2 separate regions of the Homo sapiens genome follow, and region 1 is linked to region 2. The links are contacts of gene promoters, found by promoter capture Hi-C in human tissues and cell types (Jung and others, 2019). All regions are on one chromosome and are shown on one strand. The core of a region is centred on a gene start or on the middle of the fragment in contact, and the rest is flanking DNA. Distances in the headings are between cores, read along the strand shown.

What was found. Contacts are between HindIII fragments. The study calls those that stand out against the background at their distance.
Region 1: a fragment that was not itself captured here is called in contact with the fragment with the promoter of PRRT4 in region 2 in 7 of the 25 tissues and cell types used here (IMR-90 fibroblasts, adrenal gland, aorta and 4 more).

Annotation. Positions count from the first base shown.
Region 1 is chr7:128,433,425-128,437,863 of GRCh38, reverse strand. It overlaps the pseudogene RPL37P16. Among named protein-coding and RNA genes, the nearest start is that of HILPDA, 20 kb to the left of the region's middle. The HindIII fragment of the contact is 6,008 bases long and covers 1-4,439 here.
Region 2 is chr7:128,360,053-128,364,229 of GRCh38, reverse strand. It overlaps PRRT4 (proline rich transmembrane protein 4), which reads left to right and starts at 2,540. Exons shown (of 6, transcript NM_001174164.2): 1 at 2,540-2,669; 2 at 2,808-2,924; 3 at 4,167-4,177. RefSeq lists enhancers at 2,605-3,473, 3,474-4,177. The HindIII fragment of the contact is 21,921 bases long and covers 1-4,177 here.

The DNA of each region.
Region 1 (4,439 bases), core at 555-3,054, 74 kb before region 2:
TTTGCTTTTGCTACTGCTTAAGCTAACTTACGTCCAAGGATCCGCTTCGCCCCCAGCTTGCTCTGCTATTCTCCTGCCTTAGTTTCTTCCAACTTGCACAGCGTTCTCAAGTTTCATCTATGTTGTAGCTTGTATCAGAATTTCATTCATGTTCAAGTAATATTCTGTTGTATGGATATACCACATTTTGTTTACCCATTCATCAACTGATGGACATTTGGGTAGTTTCCACCCTAGCTATTATGAATAAGGCTGATATGAACATTTGTGTACATGTTTTTGTGTAGATATATGTTTTCAGTTCTCTTGGATCTACAACTAGGAGTAGAACTGCTGGGTTATGTGGTATCTCTGTGTTTAATATTTTGAGGAATTGCCAAACTGTTTTCCAGAGTGGCTGCATCATTCTGTAATTCTACCAGCAATATATAAAGGTTCCAGTTTCCCCACATCCTGTCAACACTTGTTATTGTCTTTACTTTTTTAAATTTTAGCCAGCCTGGTGGTTGTTAAGTAGTATCTCATTGTGGATTTCATTTGTATTTCCCTAATGACTAATGATGTTGAACATCTTTTTATCTGCATATTGGCTATTTGTAAGCCTCCTTTGGAGAAATGTTTATTCAAATTCTTCACCCAGTTGTAGCCGGGCATGGTCGCAGGCACCTGTAATCCCAGCTACTTGGGAGGCTGAGGCAGGAGAATTGCTTGAACCCGGGAGACAGAAGCTGCAGTGAGCCGAGATCACCCCACTGCACTCCAGCCTGGGTGATGAGCAAGACTCTGTCTTAAAAAAAAAAAAAAAAAGTGGCTGGGCACGATGGCTCACGCCTGTAATCCCAGCACTTTGGGAGGCTGAGGTGAGTGGATCGCCAGAGGTCAGGAGTTCGAGACCACCCTGGCCAACATAGTGAAACCCCGTCTCTACTAAATATACAAAAAATTTAGCTGGGCGTGGTGGTGGGCGCCTGTAATCCCAGCTACAAGGGAGGCTGAGGCAGGAGAACTGCTTGAACCTGGGAGGCGGAGGTTGCAGTGAGCCGAGATTGTGCCATTGCACTCCATCCTGGGCAACAAGAGCGAAACTCCATCTCAAAAAAAAAAAAAAAAAATCCTGTGCCTATTTTCAAATCAGGTTATATGACTTTTTATTTTTGAGTTGTAGAAGTTCTTTATATAAAGAACTTCTGGATACAAGTCTCTTATCAGATACATGATTTGCAAATACTTCTCCCATTCCATAGGTCCTCTTTCTTTTAAATGTTATCTTGATTAAGTATAAAATTCTAGTTTGCTAGTTATTTACTTTTTTTTTTTTTTGAGACAGGGTTTTTGCTCTGTTAACCAGGCTGAATTGTAGTTATGTGATCTCAGCTCACTGCAACCTCTGCCTCCCAGGCTCAAGCAATCCTCCCACCTCAGCCTGCCAGGTAGCTGGGACTACAGGCATGCTCCACCATGCCTGGCTAATTTTTTTTTTTTTTTTTGGTAGACAAGGGGTTTCACCATGTTGCCTAGGCTGGTCTCAAACTCCTGGGCTCAAACAAGCTGCCTGCTTCAGCCTCCCAAAGTGCTGGGATTACAGGTGTGAGCTCCCATGCCCGACTTGTTATTTACTGTTATACATTTAAAAATATTCCTTTGTCATCTAGCTTCCTTGATGATAGAAGGTGAGGGTTTTATGTCATTCATTGCTTCTGGACAATTCCAGCCACTATCTCTTAGAATATTGCCTCTCTCTATTCTGTTTTCTTCTTACAGTACTTCAATTGGATGCATGTTCATCTTACTCAGTCTGGTCTTCATGTCTCTTAATATTTCCTTCATATTTTCCAAGTTTTTGGCCCTCTCTGCTTCATTCTATATAACTTTTTATATCTTGTAGGGGAGGGGGTTTGGCCTATTTTTGTTTCTGTATTTTTTTTAATTCACTAATTCTGTCTTCTGTCCTATCTAATCTGTTGTTTAACTTGCCCATTGAGTTTTTAATTTTGATTATCGTGGCTTTCAGTTTTAGATGTTCTATTGATTTATTTTTTTCAAATCTCATCTGTTTTGATAGCATATGGCTCCTTTGTCATGTTTTCAGTTTATTTTTATTTTTCTGTAAACATTTTTTAAATTCTTATTTTTTACTTCATACCTAATAATTCTGTTATAGGAAAATGGAAAGGATATTATGCAGCTGTTTCTTGGGTATGCTGGCATTTGCTCATGTAGGCTTGTTTCTGTGTGATTTATTTTTTGCATTTGAGCTTTACTTGTCCAAACTTTTTGTGTGGGAATCATACATAGCCTGGGTTAACTGCAGCTCCTCCAGAGAAGCTTTGCGCAAAGCTTCTTCAAGGAACTAACAATCCACCGCTAATGTTTGTTCATGTTTGATCTTGTGTTTGCCCATACCAGGCACAGTATGCATTCTGTTTGCAAATACGCCTGAAGCCCAGGATTGCAAATTCTCAGTGGAAATGTTTTTTCAGGTCCAGAATTATGGCTGAAGCAGATACATTTTCCCTTTCTCCCCCTTTTGTTGATGGGCCCCAGCTTTATGCCAGGCTTTGGTTATTAACATTACTGAACAGCCCCCTCCCCGTCCCCGCCCACCCAAATCCAGCCACAGCTTCAGGGTTCTCATTTCTTTGCTTTGTTTGTTTGTTTGTTGTCCCTGTAGCTTTCCCTTCCTCCTCCACCCTCAAGCTCTGCTATGCATTTAAAGGAATGTTTGTCATGCTTTAGGTGGGAATACTGTCTGATTATCTAGTTCCTATACTGCCTGAAATTGAATCCAGGGGGAAATAGTACAGATACAAACGCAGATAATTTCTAGTGTTCTCAGCCCCACTGGAGCCCATTATGGATCCATGTGCTCCAGAAGATGAGTTAATCAGACAAGATCAGGCATTCAGGGTGGTATGGCTGTAGACAGAAGATGAGTTAATCAGATAATGGAATTCCTATGCTATTAGATAATTGATGTATGACCTCTCTGGGTAAATTAGAACCTTGACCCAATCAGAATGCACTAGTTGTATTTTTTAATTTTAATTTTTTTATTTTTTTATTTATAGAGACAGGGTCTCAGTGTTACCCAGTCTGGTCTTGAACTTCCAAGTTCAAGTGATCCTCTTGCCTTGGCCTCCCAAAGTGTTGGGATTAAATGTGTGAGTCACCACACCCAGCTTTATTTATTTATTTTATGTATTTACTTACTTACTTTTAGAGACAGGGTATCTCTCTGTTGCCCAGGCTGGAGTGCAGTGGTGCAATCATAGCTTGCACCTTCAACCTCCTGGGCTCAAGTGATCCTCCTGAGTCAGCACCCTGCCCCACTCCCAGTAGCTGGAACTACAGGTACGTACCACTGTGCCCAGCTAATTAAATTTTTTTGTTTGTAGAGACAGGGTCTTGCTTGGTTGCACAGGCTGGTCTCAAACTCCTAGCCTCAAGTGTTCCTTCCACCTCAGCCTCCCAAAGCACTGGGATTACAGGTGTGAACCGCTACAGCAGCCTAGATAGAATGCATTATTTTTAAGAGGGATTATATGGGTTGGCTGTGTCCCCACCCAAATCTCATCTTGAATTGTAGTTCCCATAATCCCCATGTGTCCTCAGAGGGACCTGGTGGGAGGTAATTGAATCATGGGGCAGTTACCCCCATGCTGCTGTTCTCAAAATAGTGAGTGAGTTCTCATGAGAACTGATGGTTTTCTTAGGGGCTTCTCCCACACTTCTTGCTGCCACCAGGTGAAGAAGGATGTGTTTGCTTCCCCTTCCACCATGATTGTAAGTTTCCTGAGGCCTCCACAGCCATGAGGAACTGTGAGTCAATTAAACCTCTTTATAAATTACCCAGTCTCCAGCTGTTCTTTATAGTGGTGTGAGAACAGATTAATACAAGGGGTTTGAAGATGGGTAATCAGTGCTAAATCTTGCAGGTGGCCAGGAGGAGGGATGTTAGCCACAAAGGTTTGTTTTTCTGAGACCCTTCAATCAGTTACCCTCATGCTTAATTTTCCTACATGGAGCTTTAGGGGAAGCCATGAGGAACATGGTGTCTGACGCATAGTAAGTGTTCAATAAATATTTGCTGACCAGATGTAGTGGAAGTGCCTTATCTTCCAGTCTGTTTGGTCTCAGCTGCAGAAGTGAGATGATGAAGGGAATCTCATCGTTTGGAAAGCATCACAGTAAGACACACACATTGTGCCACCACTGTGGCTCTAAGGCCCACCACCTCCAGAAGACGACCTGTGGCAAATGTGGCTACCCTGCCAAACACAAGAGGAAATATAACTGGGTGCCAAGGCTAAATGGCGAAATACCACCAGAACTTGTTGAATGAGACACCTAAAAATTGTTTGCCACAGACTGAGGCACAGATTCCGAAAAGGAACACACCTAAACCCAAGAGGGTAGCCGTTGCAGCATCCAGTTCATCT
Region 2 (4,177 bases), core at 1,291-3,790:
ACCTTTCCCGTAGTTCTGGAGATACCTTGGAATGCCAGTTTCTGTGCCTTCTGAGAGCCTTGCAATGTAAATCAAGTTGGCTCTTGGTTTTCCCCACTGCCAGTTTGGGATGTTTTTTTCCTCGGGGCTGGTAAGTCAGTAACCCCATGACTGCCTGCCATCCTGTCTCAAAAATACTATTGCTATTGTCTCCTTTCCTGGTCTTTGCATCCTTGTAGGTTTATCTCTTGATTTGAAAATCTCTTTACTGGAGTTTTAGTGGGGTTTTGGGAGGTAATTGAATATACATTCAATTACCATCTTAACCCAGAACCCTTACTTCCTTTTTCAATATATTTTAAAAATTATTCCTGGGAATAAGCCCACTGGGTCATGGAGGATTGCTATCTTAATGTACTGGGATATGTTTATTTCTGTCTTTCCACTTAGAAGTCTTTAAGTGAACATGATTAGCAGGAAATGGGCTTTTCTATGAGGAGGATTCAAAGAAAATGTCTCCAGTAGGATAACTTTTATTAAGCATATGAGAGAAAATTAGAGGCTGAATCCCAGTTTGCAGCCTCCGGGCAGCCCCTAATGGACTTGGGGGTGGGGGCAGGTTATGATAACCCCTGGGGGTGCATCTGGAGATGTCCTTTGCAATGCTTTGTTAAGGGACCTGGAATAAATCCCAGACTTTATCGTTGATGGCCCTGAGAGTAGTTCAGTTGGTGGCCTGATTTGATTTTACATGAATTGGCGGGGCTCTGTGATAAGGAAGATGCCTTTCTGAAAAGCAACCCATTGCCCATATGGACCCCAGAACCATTCATCATTATTCACTTATCAAATAGGCATGGACCATATCCACAAAGTGCTAAGCTAGCTCTCAATTACTGAGACAGAATCTGCCCTAGGTAACTCTTTAAGCAACACCAGCACCCGCCCCCCGCCGCCCCACACCCTGCAACTGCCACAACCTTCAAGAGAAGAAGAGAAGGGATATAGATGGAAAGGGAATTCAGGGTCATATAAAAGGCTATAACATGGTGACAATAATTTTTCTGTCTCTGTGGCTCGTGGTGACGAATAAGTAAGGAGACTCTTATAAAGCATCCACCATCATTCTTGGCACACAGTTGGATGTTTAGATTTTGAGGGAAAGTTTTAAATGGTGCAGGGAGACAGAAGTGTTTCATGTTCTGATACTTTTAAATTACTATCATTGTTTGAAGAAAACATGAAGGGATTTAGAGACTCAAAACCACATGAATGAGTCAGTAGTACTTCAGTTAGTCACTACTACAACTTAACAGGTTCCATGAAGTATACATAGTGACTGCTCGGTTTTCTTGGTCATCTTCAACCTGTGTCAGCTTTTGCCTGAGCTCTCTTACTTTCTGTGAAGGGGCACGCTCTTTTTTCTTTGTTTTTCCTTTTGAGACAGGGTCTTGCTCTGTTGCCCAGGCTGGAGTGTAGCGGTATGATCACAGCTCACGGCAACCTCCACCTCCCAGGCTCAAGCAATCCTCCAGTCTCAGCCTCCCAAATAGCTGGGACTACAGGTGTCTGCCACCATACCCCATCACGCCCAGATAATTTCTTTCTTTCTTCTTTTTTTCTTGCTTGCTTGCTTGCTTGCTTGCTGTTTGTTTGTTTTTATTTTATCTTTTGCTATGTTGCCCAGGCTGTTCTTGAACCCCGGGGCTCAAGCGATCAGCCTGCCTCAGCCTCCCAAAGTGTTAGAATTACAGGCGTGAACCACTGAACCCAGCCTTTGATTTTACTGTTCTCCTCACACCTCTTACTAGAAACCAGTTGTAATCCACTTCTCACAAGCAGCTTAGCTCACCATTCTTTCTGGCAGACATTTCTGAAACAGTATTTTTGAGAGATCAGTTTTAGCGAAAAGACATGTCACACAGGGATTGGCATTTGGCAGTTCACCGGTGAAGTGTTGGAGGCACTGCTGTGTAGCAGTGCAACTGTTGAAAACCACCAGGTGGTGGAGAGGGCCGGCAGGGAGACGGTTCGAGTTTCTACCAAGCTGTGCAATCTTGGGCAAATTCGGTAATTTTCTGTGTCTTCATTTAATTGTCTGCAAAGTGGCGACATACACAGGGTTGCGGTGAGGACTCATGAGATAAAGGAAGTAGAATTGTCCATTGTACTTCTACTTAGCAAACGGTGGGACTCTTATTGCCCGGGGTGCCATCCTGGGGCAGGCTGCCATGTGTGCGCGTGTGTGCGCGCGCCCTCTGACCTGCGAGTGTGTTTCCTGGCGCGCGTGTGGATGTGTGTGCTGGGCCGCCCTGGGAGTGTGTGATTGCTCTCGCCAGGCTCACAGCGAGGCGCCCGCCGCGGCTGATTGACAGCGCTGGGTGAATGAGCGCGCGTGGAGGCGCCCGGCACCGAGGTGGCCGCGGCTCCGCGCTGCTGTGAGCGCCTGCCTGCCCGCCCGGGTGTGGGGGGACCGCGGGTGGCGGGCTGGGTGGGAGGAGGAGGAGGAGGAGGAGGAGAGAGGGCGCGGGAGCGAGGGCGGGCGGACGGGAGGGCCGTCAGAGCCGGCTGCCGCGGAGCCCCGGCGCGGGCGGCTTCGCCGGGGAGCGAGGCTCGGAGCCAGGAGGCGGCGCCGCTGGGAGGGAGCGCGGAGTGCGGAGTGCGGAGCGCGGGGCCTGGCCGCCCGCCTGGTGAGAGCGCTGCGGGCCGGGGCTGGGCCGGGGGCGGCTCAGGGGCAGCGGGGCGGCGAGGCTGCGGTCTCTGGACTAGGCGAGGGGCCGCCGGGGGCTGGAGGTCCGGATCTTCAGTCGGGGCGCTGGGCACAACAGAGAGAAGCGGTGAGATACCACGAAGCGTTGCCCAGCTGGGCGCCAGGGCCGCCACGACCGCCCCTTTTCGGAGGCTCGGCGAGGAGACCTGCCTGCGGGAGAGACCCCGGGGAGCAGGTCGGCCGGTCCGGGCTGGGGGTGTGTGTGCGTGTGCGCGCGCGTGTGTGCATGTGTGCCTGCGAGGGGTGGTGGGCGTGTACGAGTGTGGGGGGATGGCGGTGTGTGGCATGTCTGTGTGTGTGAATGTGTGTAGGGGGTGTGCATCTCTGTACAGTACATGCCGTGTGTGTGTGTGTGTGTGTGTGTGTGTGTGTGTGTGAGAGAGAGAGAGAGAGAGAGAGAGAGACAGGGGAGGCCGGGGGCTCACAGAGCTTGGGTTTGAACCCATGCAGGGAGGAGAGTGGCTCGGCAGGACGGAGTGTGTGTGTGTGTGTGCGCGCGCGCGTGCAGGGGCAGGGGGGTATGTGACGGGTGAGTGTGTCACGGGCGCTAGATGTGGCTATGTGTGTGATGTAAGGGTGCCGGGTGCATGTGTGTCCCTGGCTCACCCTCCCTTCCCCCACCAGATGTGTGCGCACAGAGGAGAGAGTTCTGGGGAGGGGGTAGGAGTCCGCCGCAGCTGCCTGCAGTTCGCCCAGCTTGCCTGCCTGGCGTTCTCCTCCAGGAAGCCGGAGATCGCCAAGCTGCCCCTCCCCCGAATACTTCAAGGGTCCTAGGGAAGGGAACAGGCCCAGCCCCAGGAAACGGGAGGGGCGGGAGGGAGGGTGCTTCTGCCAGATTGGGAACCTTGCTTCTCTGGCCAGAGCCTGGGCGGCCTTCTGACTGGGCCAGATCACTCAGCTCTGGCTTTACCCCTCCCGAGGCCCTGTGCCCCCTGGGGTCTGAGAGTGAGGGCGCCAGCACTTCTGGCTGGGGCGGGAGGTGGGGGTTGGAATAGGTCAAGACATCGGAAGGGCTTGCTTGTTCACAGTTATATGCCCAGAAGGGTGCTTGGCAAACGGTAAGCCTGCGTAAAGACTTGAGGCTCAGCAGAGGGAAGGAAGAGAGGAATCCATGTCTGGAAGCCCAAGTCCATCCCTTTTGCTACTAGTTAAGGATGAGGGCCCCTGGTTGCAGTCAGACCCCAGCTTCTGCATGAGCAGAGGGGGAAGGAGGAACCCCCAGGCAGGGATTTGTGCTGGGGCCTGAAGGTACAGGAAGGGCCCGGCAAGAAGAGCCAGAGCCATGGACAGGACACTTTGCATCCTGCCCACACTACCTGCTTCTCTGAGATCAGAAGCCTCTCTCTGGGACATCCGATCCTGGGAAAGGGAAGAGGGGGGCCACAGCCAGGGCTCACAGGGCCTCTCCTCTCTCCAGGACCTTCCTCC